Linked DNA regions of Homo sapiens: region 1 is linked to region 2. Evidence: promoter capture Hi-C in human tissues and cell types (Jung and others, 2019). All regions are on one chromosome and are shown on one strand. Each heading gives the region's core, a stretch centred on a gene start or on the middle of the fragment in contact. The rest is flanking DNA. Distances are from core to core; before and after follow the strand shown. Region 1 overlaps LOC105370406 (a long non-coding RNA gene). Region 2 holds the start of IL25 (interleukin 25).

Region 1 (7,712 bases), core at 1,505-4,004, 170 kb after region 2:
TTCCTGAGACACAGGGCAAGAAATTAAAGCTATTCAACTCCTCAAGGCCCAGGGACTATCACGGAAGAGGTGGGCACATAAGATCAAAGATTGTAAGGGCCGATTTGGAAAGATAAATAAGTTTAGTTTCTCTATAAATTAATCATTAGTGTCAAAAACACACTGATGCAAAAACCAGTATATGGACCCCTGTATTAGATTAACAAGTTTTTTGTGAAGCATTAACCAACTGCTTTTTTTTTTTTTTTTTTAAGACAGGGTCTTGTTCTGTTGCCCAGGCTAGAGTGCAGTTGCGCAATCTCGGCTCACTGCAAGCTCCTCCTCTTGGGTTCAAGCAGTTCTCCTGCCTCAGACTCCCGAATAGCTGGGATTACAAGTGCACACCACCACGCTTGGCTAATTTTTGTATTTTTAGTAGAGATAGGGTTTCACCATGTTGGTCAAGCTGGTCTCGAACTCCGGACCTCAAGCAGTCCACCCACCTCGGCCTCACAAAGTGCTGGGATTACAGGCATGAGCTACTGTGCCCGGCCTCCAACTCCTTAATAAAGTTTATAAAGGTTATAAAAGGTTTATGGAAGTTATATTTTATACTCAAGAATAAACTTTATAGATTGCTTACAAAATTTGGAAAAGCAAGTGGAATTGGCTCCATGCTGTTTTTATTAGGGCTTCAGGTTTAGAAAATTAAGTCCCCTCTCTCAATAAATGAAGGTTTTCACTATTTTTGAAATCCTTGAATTACCACTTTGGTTAAACAGATGACTTTACAATGACCTGAAATCCTATTTTGTAATATCAAGTGTTTTAAACCTTTTATATTTGACAAACTTTCCAAAATTAAATTATAAATTGTGTCTTGTTCTAACCTAATTACTCCTTTAAGATATTACATTCCCTAAAGTCCAAAAATAATATAATTTGGCTTATTTGGTATAAAAATTATACAGGAAGCATTGTCAAATATGAAATGGTTATTTGGTTTCTTTGAGCTGTATTTGTATAAATGTTATTGGTATGTGTTCCAAAATTATGAGAAACTTATAATTCTAATATAACTTAGTGTACATTATCAATAACAATAATTGTTATGTTAAGTTAAAATTACTGTGTGCCACAGAGGTAACAAATTCCCTTGTCAATTATGTTTTTGACTATGGCTGCCCTAAAACTTTTTGTCATCCACAGACAATTGTTGCCTTGTTTTGGTTCTCTTTAGAAGATGGTTTTATAACCAGCTATTAAACTATAACAGGTGCTCTTGAGTGCAGATTTCTGATAGCTTTGGAGATTGTGACATCAGAATAGAGAAAAAACTTTCAAGACTCATGGAGAGCTAAAATGTTCATGAATATCAAGCAGAACAGGAATTAACTGCATGGACTGAACTAATCTTTTTGACTTTTTGCTTAAAATGTTGCTGATCCTTTATTCTGTTTTTCAGAGTCTTAAAACTTTTCTTTTGAGCTATTGACAGCTTTCAACAATTTAGTATACTCCCATGAACAAAATTTGGAGCATATTTGTTTCTCTGTAATTGATTTTCTCCAGAATTTGAAAACTATTTGTGAGCTTCTTAACTTTTGGCAATACAGTTAGTTGCATAAGTGCAATAAGAATCTGTTTTCATTTTTAACAGGACACAATTGAAGAAACTGGTAGTTTTACCAAGGCTTTGACTGGAATGGTGCACTTTCCTATAAGGAATCAAACTTGACTTAAGAAGCCAATAAAGCCCTTGGAAAAACTGGCCTCATATTTTGTGTACACAGTCCGTGTACAGGGTTTCTGGCCTGTGGTAAGTAAAGAATATCACTTTCTGACAGGCACGGAAGCCCCAGATTTATCTTGGATCCTCAAGAGGAGAGGAAATTCAGACCAAGTACAGTGGCTCACACCTGTAATCCCAGCACTTTGGGAGGCCGAGGTGGGTGGATCACTTGAGGCCAGGAGTTCGAGACCAGCCTGGCCAACATGGTGAAACCCCATCTCTGCTGAAATTACAAAAATTAGCCAGACACAGTGGCACGCACCTGTAATCCCATCTACTTGGGAAGCTGAGGCATGAGAATTGCTTGATCCCAGGAGGCAGAGGTTGCAGTGGGCCAAGATCATGCCATTGCACTCTAGCCTGGGTGACAGAGCAAGAATCTGTCTCAAAAAAAAAAAGTTGGGGGAGAGGAAATTCACCCAACTTGTAGGTATTTGATGGCACAAATTCATGGCTGGATTCAGCTTTAAAATCTTATCTGAGATTCCTCCTATGGAACAAAGTTTCATCAAAGCCCATTTAAAAGCCTATGTAAAAAATAATTATTTTTGCTGAACTGTATACAAATAATTTGGCCAAGCATAATAAGCAAACCAATCCTACCATGATTTATCTTTAGTAAAATGGGAAACTAGAGAGAGAGAGAAAAAAATGTTTCAAGACGATAGTACACTCGTTGTTAGAGTCTAGTCTTGCCTAATTTTTTTTTTTTTAATTTTTTATTATGTTCTACAGTTTGGGCTGAATTCTAATTGTTTCTTGGCTACAAGTCTTCAAAATAATGTTTTCAACTTTTTCTTTTTTTTCCCTTCTTTTTTTCCCATGTTTCCTAATTAGGAGTCACTGAAAACTAAGCTGTGCTTTCTTAAAGCCCAGCTAACTGAGACTAAACAACTTAAACTTCAGAAGAAAATAACAGCAACCAATTTACATACCTGCCTACTGACTATAGACTTCAGAGAAATGTGGCCTATATAGATTTTCCAAGAATGTTCTTTTGTTTGTTGTTGTTTTTTCTCCCTTCCTCCCCACTATTTTTCCTTCATAGGACATGAGACTTCACAACCTGCTAAAAATCTTCGTTCGGGACCTACCTGTCTAGGAATAAACCATCCTTGCCATGAGAGATCAAATGAAACCTGAGACCAGAGATTCATTTTCTTGTAAAATGCCTTCTCCAAAAGATTTTTGAAAAGAAAGGGGGGAAATATGAAAGGAAATTAAAGCTTGGGGCCCCCAAATCACTAAGCTAAAGGGAATAGTCAAGCTGGGAACTGCTTAGGGCAAAGCTGCCTCCCATTCTATTCAAAGTCACCCCTGTGCTCACTGAGATAGATGCATATCTGATTGCCTCCTTTGGAAAGGCTAACAGAATCTCAAAAGAATGTAACCATTTGTGTATCACCTATCTGTGACCTGGAAGCCTCCTCCCCACTTCAAGTCTTCCTGCCTTTCCAGACTGAACCAATGTACTTCTTACATATATTGATTGATGTCTCATGCCTCCCTAAAATGTATAAAACTAAGCTGTACCCCAACCACCTTGGGCACAGGTCTTCAGGACTTCCTGAGGCTGTCACGGACACATGTCCCCAACCTTGGCAAAATAAACAATTAACTGAGACCTGTCTCAAATTTTCAGAGTTCACAGTATTTTGAAACCAAAATCTGGACACAAGATGTGCCCATTGCTATGGGGGTGTCATTGCCTCTAGGCCCTCTCAGTGGACAGCGTGAGGTATAGCACTAGGTAATATTTGTGTGTATACCGACTCATGTATATACACATATTTCTGTCTATATATATACCAAGCTAGCTAACCAACTCTAATCCACTACCCAAGGGCTCATTCTATTTTTCCCTCCTTGCTTATATGTTACTTCTCTTTCTGATAGTGAAAACCCTTCCTCCCAAAATCCACTATACATTTACTTATTTGTTCAGCCCCAGTACATATGTAAAGCCGTTTGAGAACTATTAACCCATATACCATGAGAAACAGACTTACCAGCTAGAGTATAGTGTTTACATACAGTACGTGGACCTTTTTTTTTTTTTGGACAGAGTTTTCTTGTTCTCAGGCTGGAGTGCCATGGCGCGATCTCGGCTCACTGCAACCTCTGCTTCCCAGGTTCAAGTGATTCTCCCGCTTCAGCTTCCCTAGTGGCTGGGATTACAGGTACCCGCCACCACGCCCAGCTGATTTTTTTTATTTTTAGTAGAGACGGGGGTTTCACTATGTTGGCTAGGCAGGTCTCCTGACCTCAGGTGATCCACCCTCCTCCGCCTCCCAAAGTGCTCAGATTTCAGGCGTGAGCCACCACGCTTGGCTCCAGTATGTGGACCTTTTTTGATATTTGAAGAAATTTGATTATAAACTGGATATTAGTTGATACCAAGGAATTATTGTTAATTTCATTAGGTGTGATAATGGCCTTGAGTTATGTAAGACAATTCCATAATTTTTTTCAGAGGTGCTTATTGAGATATGTGGGGATGAAATAGCATGATGTCTGTAGTTATTTTTTAAACATTTCAGTAAAGAAGACAAGACATATAAGAAGGCAGGAATGTCAGGCCTCTGAGCCCAGGCCAGGCCATCGCATCCCCTGTGACTTGCACGTACACATCCAGATGGCCTGAAGTAACTGAAGATCCACAAAAGAAGTAAAAACAGCCTTAACTGATGACATTCCACCATTGTGATTTGTTCCTGCCCCACCCTAACTGATCAATGTACTTTGTAATCTCCCCCGCCCTTAAGAATGTACTTTGTGAGATCCCCGCCTGCCCACCAGAGAACAACCCCCTTTGACTGTAATTTTCCATTACCTTCCCAAATCCTATGAAATGGCCCCACCCCTATCTCCCTTCGCTGACTCTCTTTTTGGACTCAGCCCGCCTGCACCCAGGTGAAATAAACAGCCATGTTGCTCAAAAAAAAAAAAAAGAAGACAAGACATAGAAGGGGGAAATAGGTAGATAAAACAACATAGCAAAATCTTGATAATTGTAGAATCTGGGTGAGGATTCTGATACATGAGAGTTCATTGTATTATTCTCTCTCCTTTGGGGAATGTTTGAAATTCTTTATTATACAATATTTTTTATTATTTTTTAATTATATTTGTTTTTTTAAATAATTTTTAATTTGCTTATTTAATATTTACTTTTAATATAGGCAAATTAGTGAAAATTATTTTTGAGATGGAGTCTCGCTCTGTTGCCAGGCTGGAGTGCAGTGGCATGATCTCAGCTCACTGCAACCTCCGCCTCCCGGGTTCAAGCAATTCTCATGCCTCGACCTCCCAAGTAGCTGGGACTACAGGCATGTACCACCACACATGGCTAATTTTTGTATTTTTAGTAGAGACAGGGTTTCACCATGTTGGCCAGGCTGGTCTCAAACTCATGGCCTCATGAAATCCACCTGCCTCAGCCTCCCAAAGTGCCGGGCTTACAGGCGTGAGCCACAGTGCCTGGCCTCTCGTTATATTTTTCTCACCCTTTCTGGATGATAACATCAGTGACCACTTATGTACTAATAACACTTAAATATGATTTTTTAGCCCAAATCTTTCTCCTGGGCTAGGGATACCATATATCCAACTGTCCACCAAGTGTTACCACATACATGTCCTATATACATTCATTCAGCAATTTTAAATTGGGTACCTACTTAGTCCTAGGCACTGTACTGGGCCCTGAAGACATTAGTGAGCAAAAAAAGCACCATTGTCCCTGCACTCATGGAGTTTGCAGTCTAGATGGGGAGGTAGACATTAATCATAAAATCACTCTAGTTATCACAAGTGAGGACTCTGAAACAAAGAACACACTCTAGGGCCAGGAATGGGGTGGGTGGGGGCTTCTTTGAGGAAGTAACAATTGTGCTAAATCAGAAGGATGAATAGCAGTGAACTAGGCTAAGGGCGAAGAGAAGCCTCTAGGCAGAAGGAAGAGCATGGACACAAAAAAAGCCCTTTGGGCCCTAGAACAGTGGCTCATGCCTGTAATCCCAGCACTTTAGGAGGCCTAGGCAGGAGGATTGCTTGAGACCAGGAGTTCAAGATCAGCCTGGGCAACATAGCAAGACCCCATCTCTATAAAAATATTTTAAAAATTAGCTGGGCATGGTGGTGCAGCCCTGTAGTCCTAGCTACTCAGGAGGCTGAGGCGGGAGGATTGCTTGAGCCCAGGAATTCAAGGCTGTAGTGAGCTATGATCACTCCACTGCCCTCCAGCCCGTGTGACAGAGCAGGCCCCTGTTTCTATGTTTTTGTTTTTGTTTTTTTGAGCCCTTTGGTAGGTCATCTGAGGACTGAAAGGAGGTTGGTGTGGCTGTGGCACAGAGAGCAGTGGTGACGCAGAGTGGGCTTGGAAGCCAGCTGGAGGTTGGGCCATGCATTTTGGCATGATAATGGCGGAGCGGGGCAGGCTGGAGAAAGAGCAGAAAGAATAATGACAGAGAGACAGTGGGCACTCAGAGGATTGGTAGTTACAATCAGAAAGAAATTTTTCGGCACCTGGTAAAAGGCACTTTTCCATGGTGGCTAAGTGTCTAGGCTCTGATTTGCAGAGTAAATGCTAAGCCAGGTGCTCCCGTTCATAAGGAAGTTTTCAGAGGTCAGTAGACAGCAGCAATTGAGGATGTGACCAAGTGGTAGTAAGCATCCAGAGAAGAATTGAGAAATAACAATGTCATGATTGAAAGCAACTGAGACAGAAAAGAATGTTGTACCTTTTTTCTCCCGTGGCACAGTGAAAAGAGCAAATGCAGTGAGGTCAATCAAGATTTAGAGTCCAATTACAGCTCTGCCATTGTGTGTGTCCTTGGCAAGTCACATAATTTTGAACCCGTTTCCTCCTTTGTAAAATGCAAAACAACGTTTACCTTGAAAGGTTGTTTGGAAGGTTAAACGAAATTAAACATGATGAAATTCCTTGTTACATGAAGTGTCTGGCACATAGTGATTGCTCAATACATGCTAGTCCCTTCCACCGTCCAGGTGCCATCAGAACATGGCAAGGACCCATCTCTACTGAGGAGTATTAGGAGGGTGGATGTGCTGTCGGGAGAGCACAGGTTTCATTTGAGGTGTGGAGGTCCAGGGAGTGTTGGAAGAAGATACTGAGCACACGAAATGAGTGCATGAAGTAGGGGAGAATTAGCACTAAATTGAATTACTGAATAGAAATGAGACTATAATGAAGGAAGAGCATTACAAAACAATTGGTTCCAGAGCAGTGAGGGTGAATCATGGGAACAAAGGACATCGAAGCCTTAGAGGTAGACAAGAGATATGGTGAAGATGGGCTACGAGTCAAGCGCTTATAATTCCATTTGGTTCCTCTGATAGCTTAATTCATTTATTATAAATCTTCCATGTTTTCTAAATCTGTGAGACTTTACATTTACCTCAGAATACTACTTTAGCTGCATCTCATGGGTTTTTTTTTTTTCTTTAGAGACAGAGTGTCACTATGTTGCCCAAGCTGGACTTGAACTCCTGAGATCAAGCAATCCTTCCACCTCAGCCTCCCAAATAGCTGGGACTGTAGACGTGCACCACAACACCTGGCTCCTATATGCAGTACTTTCATTGTCAGTTAACTTCTAGTTATTTCATTTCCATTATTATTATTTAACCGAGTTATTTCGTTCATTTTCAAATTTCCCAAAAGTCTTTACCTTATTTTCTATTTTAATTGTTGATTGCTAATTTAATTTCATTGTGACCCAAGAATCTGTGTGATGCTGTATGATTTCACATCTTTGAAATTTCTAGAGCTCCTCTGTGACCCAGTAAATCGAAATGTTTTTAAATATACCATGCATACTTGGAAATAATGTATAGTCTCTATTTTTTAATGCACAGTTCTTTAGAAATCTGTTAGATCAAGCTTGCTAATTTGTTCAAATATTTTATCTGTTTACTA
Region 2 (7,016 bases), core at 1,028-3,527:
GTTGGCCAGGCTGGTCTTGAACTCCTGACCTTAGGTAATCCACCCACCTCGACCTCCCAAAGTGCTGGGATTACAGGCATGAGCCACCGGGCCGGACTTTAGGTGGTGTTTCTATTATTATTATAGCATTATTGCAAAAGTAAAAACCACTCTGACATCCAAGTATTAAAGAGTATAAAGAGTGAAAGTTAATAGTCTCTCCCTACCAGCCCCACTCCCCAGAAGAAGCTATCCTCAACTATTTCCTGCACATTCTTCCAGACGCTGTGCAAGCTTATATTATAAGCATACTTGAGAGTGCATGGGAAGACTTATTTACTTATTCTGAAAGGATTTCATGGCAAAAAAAAAAAAAGAAAGAAAGAAAGAAAGATGAAAAACACTGAAAAGTAGATGTCCCACAGGTCTGCGACTCCATTAGTCTGGCAGGCGACAGTCTCCAGCTTGTGGGACCATTCCCCACACAGACAAGCCCTGGCAAATGGAATTAGCTAGCACATCACTTCCCAAAGTGGGTTCCCTAATAAATCACCTGCACCTGTTGGGTGCTTAAATGAATTTGGGAAACACCAGTTTAACGGTTTACTTTCTACAGACTTCTTGCAGACTTTAATGTACAATGACAGTATGAATCTCCAAGGGGTAGGAGATACAGCAGTCTTTCCCAAGTTTACCTGGCATCACTTTTTTCTGAGAAGCAGCTCATGGGATGAGCATTGCACAGAACACACTTTGGGGAAAGCCACCTGAGTGGTTCTCGGGTTCACAGACTCCCAGCAAGGGGTCTGGAAGACAGCTGAGTTAACCTCTGGCACCCGCCTCCCCTAAGAAGCTCCCATGCCATCTGATTTGGCCCAGGACCCAGCCAGCTTCTGAGACCACTCCAAAGAGTCATGACCTGTAGTGTCCACACTAGATCCAATCTCAGTTAGATCTGACCCCCTCCCCACCACTGAACTTCTCCATCTACCCCCAAAGCCAATGCTAAGACAGAACTAGAAGGAAGAAGTGAAATCACATGTCTGGAATCCCTAAGACCCTAGTTTTTAATATTTTGCTTCATCATTCATATTTCAGCACTTCCTAATATTTTTCATATCATGGCACAAATAGAGAACTATAATATTTATGTGGCACACTGAGTGAAAGAATACAGTACCCATGATCATGATCAAAGATATCCAGTCCACAGCTCCAGCCAGCCAGCTGCCCCCAAAAGTTAAGGGTTTCACTCCTTTAGTATGCTTATAACTAACCCATTCATGGCCAGGGCAGTATCAATTGGTATTGGGATGCTTCATGCCTGTATCATGCCATTATTCCCTAATATTTTACCCAGAAAAAACATGGGCCATTATAGGGATGTTTTAAAAGAAAAGGAGAGAACCAACATAAATACAGACTTTTACATACATTATATTTCATTTGATCTGCACATTAGCCTATGGGGCATTATATCATTTTGCAGGTGAAAAAAAAAAAAACCCTGAGTTTTGAAAACTTGAATTGACTCAAGATCATCCAATGAGAGTCAGAGCTAGGACTCAAATACAGACCTTGTCTAACTCCCAAACCTTTACAGCCCCTCTGAGATCAAAATGGGAAAGTAAGCTGGAATTGCCCTGGTCCCTCACGCATACCCTGGCCAGCACACACAGGGCAGGCATTCGGGAGGGGCAGCAGACTCACTCATATCTCCAGGGGGAGATGGCCCTGCTGTTGAGGGGTCCATCTTCACTGGCCCTACAGGACTCTGGGTGGCGGTTGGGCCTAGCAGGCTCTAGGGGAGGCACAGGCACAGTGCTCCACCTCAGCAGCTCCTCAGAGGTGTCCTGCCCTTTGCTGGGGCAGCAGCTGGGCCAGTGGCTGTAGGTGTGGGTTCCCATGACCATTGCCAAGAATGCAACCACCTGTAGGAAAAGGCTAATGAGAGAACTGTCCTCACCTAATCTGGGTCGCTCCCTCATCTGCACCCTCCCCCTGGGATCCCAGTTTCTCACTCCACTTGGCCCCCAGCCCCAAACCTGGCAGCTTGGCCTCCCTCCACCCTCAGCAGCATCTCTGCTCCTCTCCCTCTCAGCACAGCCCTCAGGCAGCCCTCTGCACTGACCTGGTACATGCTGGGCACTGCACACTCAGTCACAAGTGGGGCACTGACTGACAGGCCTCGTGGAAGCAGGCTGACTGGAGCAGGTTAGGAGTCCTGATTTTATTTTCAGCAAGCCTGTTTTGTTTATTCAAATTTATTTCCACTGTCTTTTTAGGGAGTGACTTGAGGTTAAAAAACAAAACCAAAAAAACTCTGAAAGTATTTCCAAAGGCTGCTTAAAATGCAATACTCATGGAAGTTGTGATGACCATCATTATATGCCTGGTAGCTGATTGGGTAAACTTTGCTCTTTGAATTTTTCTGGCCATGGGGTCAAAGCAATAACAGTCTGCTGTTCTGCATTCTTGTGAACTGGCATTAGCGGGATTTCCCTGGTTGGTTTGGTAGCCAAAATTAGGAAATGTCTTGTGGCCTCCCTTCAAGAGGCCTCGTTTCCATGATCCCTGCTCCCCCCATCCAGGGTCTGGTTTCACCATTCCCCTCTTCCCAGGTGTCCCTCTGATCATCCACCTTCGTGATTATTTCCTTTCCCTTAGACATCCTTTGACTCCCATCCCCTTTGTTCTCTGACCTCTTCCACATTTTCAATGACCCCAAAATTCTATGACCCCCATCAGCTATGACTTCTCCCCCATTGTCCATGACCCACTCCCTAACTCCCCCTTGCCCTCGCCAGTCACTGCCCCCCACCGGGGATACAAGCCTACCCTCACAGGGCTGCTGGAAGACCCTGACTTCCTAAGTTTGTTGGCTGGATGGGCAAGGTCTGATGGAAGAAGCTGTGGGTGAGTGTCCCCATTGCACAAATGAGAAGGTGAAGCAAGGAAGAGGAGGGAAACTGAAACAGCCTCACCTAAGACCCAACAGGAAGGAGGTCTCAGTTCCAGGAACCAACCTGCTCTCATTCACAGAGCCTTGGGGACCAAGCCCATGACAGGGTCAGCTACTGCTTTCAGGCCATGAAGTGAGCCCACTCAGCCTCAGCAGGTCCAGAAACATGGGCCACTGTTAGCCAGGAGGGTGTATGTGTGCCCCAGAAAGGCTTACAGTTGGGCTTGACCCCAAAGACACAGGTCAGCCGGGTCCAGCCTGCTTGGGAGACACTGTGCTGAGAGTGGGCCAGTGTGTCCTTCCCCCCAGGTCCTTCTCTTCATGCTTGCCTATTGGCCTGCCTCATCCCCCATACGCACCCAACATACCCATACACAGACATTGCCCCTAGAATGATGTGGCTTGATTTGCATGTGCTTTCCCTTAGAAAATACTCCTCTAGTAACCAAGGACTAGGAAATCAACAAAGGGAACCAGGAATAACTTAAACTGCAGTGAGAGGAATCTTTCCAATGCGTTAGGGCAAAGCAGCCCCAAAAGAGAGAAGTGATGAAGTCAAAGGGCAATCTGGAAAATTGGGAGAAACTGCTCTGCTCTGATGAGTCTTGGGGCACCTGGAACTGTGGGATGGAGGGCACTTAGAAGAAGCAGGTGGTGGCTGGGAAAGCAGGGGCACTCAGGAACAGTGATGAGGCCAGTATCATGGCCCCACTCTCACTGCCTCACCCTCTGCCCCCAGTACTCGCAGACGTCCTCTCCCTTCCATATCCTGCTGGCCTCAGCTCCTGTGCACTTACATGTGCCAGGCATGGTGCTAAGCCCTGGGCATGCATCATCTCATTTTATCCCGACAATGAAACCATGACATGGAAACTATTATCCCCATGTTACAGATGAGGAAACTGAGGCCCAAGGAAATTTAGTAACTTACCCAAGATCACAAAGAAAGAGGCTGAGCTGGTTTCCCATTCCAGCTCTGACCAATTCCACATGTAACCTCCTGGCATGGAAGTGCCACACCGTGCCTACCCCTAGTTGGCTGTGAATGGAAGGGGAGCCCCACAGTGAATGCTTTCCTGCTCACCTGGGCTTGGGTTGGGACAAGTTTCAACTGCACCTGCTGAGGGCCACAGGGTGTGTCTGCCCACTTAGGTATCCAGCCCTGCTGTTCGGATTCACTGCACTAGCTCCCTTTCCTAGCCTTTTGTCTGGCAGACATGGCCTCAAGGTGGCTTCCCGTGCTCCTGGGAAAACCTCAATCCCAGAACAGGATCTTAGGAGGCAGTGCCGTTTCAGAAGAGCTGGATACCTATGGGTCTCGCTCTCACCAATCAGAACCTCAGGGCTAAGAAGGTAGTAGAAATGGAGTTGGCTCAGATCTCCTATCTTGACCCTTGCCCAGGAGGGGGTGTTCAAAGGAGCCAGAAGTGATCCCAACTACCTGTTTCACTTGCTGACGCTGCAGGGAGGACCCAGCCTAGGTCACCAGGAACGTTGCCCTTCAGAAGAGTCCTTTGGGGTGTCCCTCTAGGACAGAGGGAGAAACCCTCCAGGAAGGGTTGGCTTTTCCCACCCCCATGATGACCAGGACTGACCTGAGAACCTGTGCTCTGAGCCACATGCCCCCACCCCACCCCACTTGCTCACCCTCTGTCCTTATCTCAGTAGCAGCTTTGTGGGACTCCTTAGGGTGACTCCCTGTCATGAGAAACATTTTCCAGTGGGGTTTCCTCCTGAGGTGACTAGTTTTGGAATCCCTGAGTCACTTCAGCTTCCAGGGAACCCTTGGGGGTGTGAGGATAGGGGGGTGGCAATGGGGAGAAGGCTGGAGGCAGGAACAAAGGAAAGTCTGCATGGCACATGACATCAAGGTCCCCTCCCAGCACGTCTTCACCTGCCTAGGCCTGACCTGGCAGTTGAAGAGAGCTTCCTGGGATTCCTGTCCCTGTGGCCCTGAGGAAAGAGAGAAGCACCTGCTAGGAAAGGGCAGGGAAGATGTGGTGGAATACACTTCCCAATCTTGGCTTGGAAAGGCTCTTGGGGCTTACAGAAAGTGAGAATATGTCTTCCCCGCCCCTTCTCAGGAAGATATGCAAGTCTCCACCTGCTGCCTTGAAGTCTTGGCCCTGCCAATGACCAGCTCTGGATCTTGAGCCCTCTCTCTGCTCCTCCCTCTTCAATTGTAGAAGTGGGTGGGTTTGGGTGGGCGGGGATTGGGGGGAACATTGACCTGGATGGTCACAAAGGTGCCAACCAGCTTAGCTGCTCCAGACCTCAGCTCCTGAAATAGTGCTGAATCCACAGGACTCAGCAGGGTCTACTGAAGCTCATCGGCACTCACTGTACATGAAGCTAAGGCACCGAACATCAAAATGTTGAAATACTTCTGCTCCTGCTGGTAAGTAGATGCTTCCTTCAGCCTTGGGACACCACCTTACCATACTTCCCTATGATCCAGCAACTAAAGGTTGAACACCTGGCACAGATGGAGGCCCCCAGAACAGTGCTACCACTTTCTGATTGGTAGATGATAATGGTTTAGCTACAAAAACGCCTAGGCTCAGGAGCAGCCTTCAAGGAGAACCCAGTCTAGACCCTGGGAGACACATGGAGAATCAGAGTTAGCAGAACCAAGAACCCAACAAACCCATGTCTTTAGTCCAGGGCTGTAGCCTTCCCCAGGAGGCCCCTCAGCTTACTCGGCTTTGTCCTATAGTCATGGCTGCCTTCGTTCACTTATCCACTCACCAAATATTTACTGTGCACCTACTGTGTTCCAAGCACTATTCTAACAGCTAGAAATGCAGGGGAGGACAAGCCAGACAAGGTCCCTGCCTCATGAAGCTTACGTTTTAGGGGGAGACAGATTATAAACAAGGAAACAAGATAATTTCTGATAATAATAAGTGCTATGAAGAAAATGAAACAGCATTATGAGATAGGGAGTTACTGGGGGTGGGGGAGAGGAAGGCAGGGCAACTTTAAGTTGGAAAGCCAGGAAAGGCCTTTCTGAGGATGCAGGATTTCACCTGATGACAGAAAGGGTCTGGGGGAAGTAGTTTAGGCAGAGGGGGCAGGACATGCAGAGTCCTAGAGGTGGAAAAGAGCATGGCATATTTGAGAAACAGAAAGGACAGTGTAGATGTTGAACAAGAGATAAGGAGGAGAGGGAGACAAGATGAGGTGAAAGAGGTGGGCAGGGAGGAGATCACATAGGGTCCTCCAGGCTACCATGGAGCATTTGGATTTTATTCCAGAGTCAGCCGGAAGATATTGACTGGATTCAAGCATGAGCTACATGATATGTTTCTTGAGGGCAGGCACCATGTCCTTGACATTCTAGTGCCACCACAAGGCCATCACCAAATAACAATAATAGTAGTTGCCTTTGTCCAAAATTTACACCTCATGGGCCTGATACTGTTCTTGGGATTCCCTTAATCCTCATAACAAGTAAATGCTAAAAGTTCAATTAACATTCCCACTCTACAGACAAGGAACCAGAGGCTCCAGGAAGTCACAGAACTTGGCCAAGGTAACTAGCCAGTGTTAGAACCAGGATTAGAACCCAGGCAATCTAGGTGCTATGGGTCCAAAGAGAGGAGAACTGAAGAATTGGTGAGCACCCAAGAAGTTTTGGGTAGCAGGAGAAACAAGGAGAGGTCCAGGAAGTCTTGGGGTCAGGTGAGGAAAAAACCAGCTCATTGGACCTGCAGGGAAGGGGAAAGAATGGGAGAAAAGACTGGGACCCGGGAAGCCAAATGGAGGGGTTCCTTCCCTTCTTCTCCCTGAATATGGCAAGGGCAAACCTTGAAGACCCACTGCTTGAGGCTGCCACCCACCCAGGGTCTCAGCTACCTGCCAAGCCTGGGTTTTCTCCAACCTCACCTGCCCTCAACAACGAACACATTCAGCTTTCTGGAAAGCACAAGTCAGAGGGGAAGCCAAGGTAAAGAGGAAAAGCCATGGAAGAAGAGCACTGTGCCTGGCAATCTACATAAGCTTACTCCTCACCAAAGTCACTGCCACAGAGGAGGACCTGAGACTCGGATGCCCTATAACTGGACAAAGGTCA

The links. Contacts are between HindIII fragments. The study calls those that stand out against the background at their distance.
Region 1: a fragment that was not itself captured here is called in contact with the fragment with the promoter of IL25 in region 2 in 1 of the 25 tissues and cell types used here (thymus).

The regions. Positions count from the first base shown.
Region 1 is chr14:23,194,790-23,202,501 of GRCh38, reverse strand. It overlaps LOC105370406 (a long non-coding RNA gene), which reads left to right. Exons shown (of 4, transcript XR_943606.3): 3 at 1,640-1,798; 4 at 7,242-7,620. It also overlaps a transcript of RNF212B not described here. Among named protein-coding and RNA genes, the nearest start is that of SLC7A8, 15 kb to the right of the region's middle. RefSeq lists an enhancer at 3,693-4,477. The HindIII fragment of the contact is 5,166 bases long and covers 172-5,337 here.
Region 2 is chr14:23,368,070-23,375,085 of GRCh38, reverse strand. It overlaps IL25 (interleukin 25), which reads right to left and starts at 2,277. Exons shown (of 3, transcript NM_172314.2): 1 at 2,111-2,277; 2 at 1,690-1,910. The coding sequence starts at 2,119. The HindIII fragment of the contact is 4,168 bases long and covers 1-3,029 here.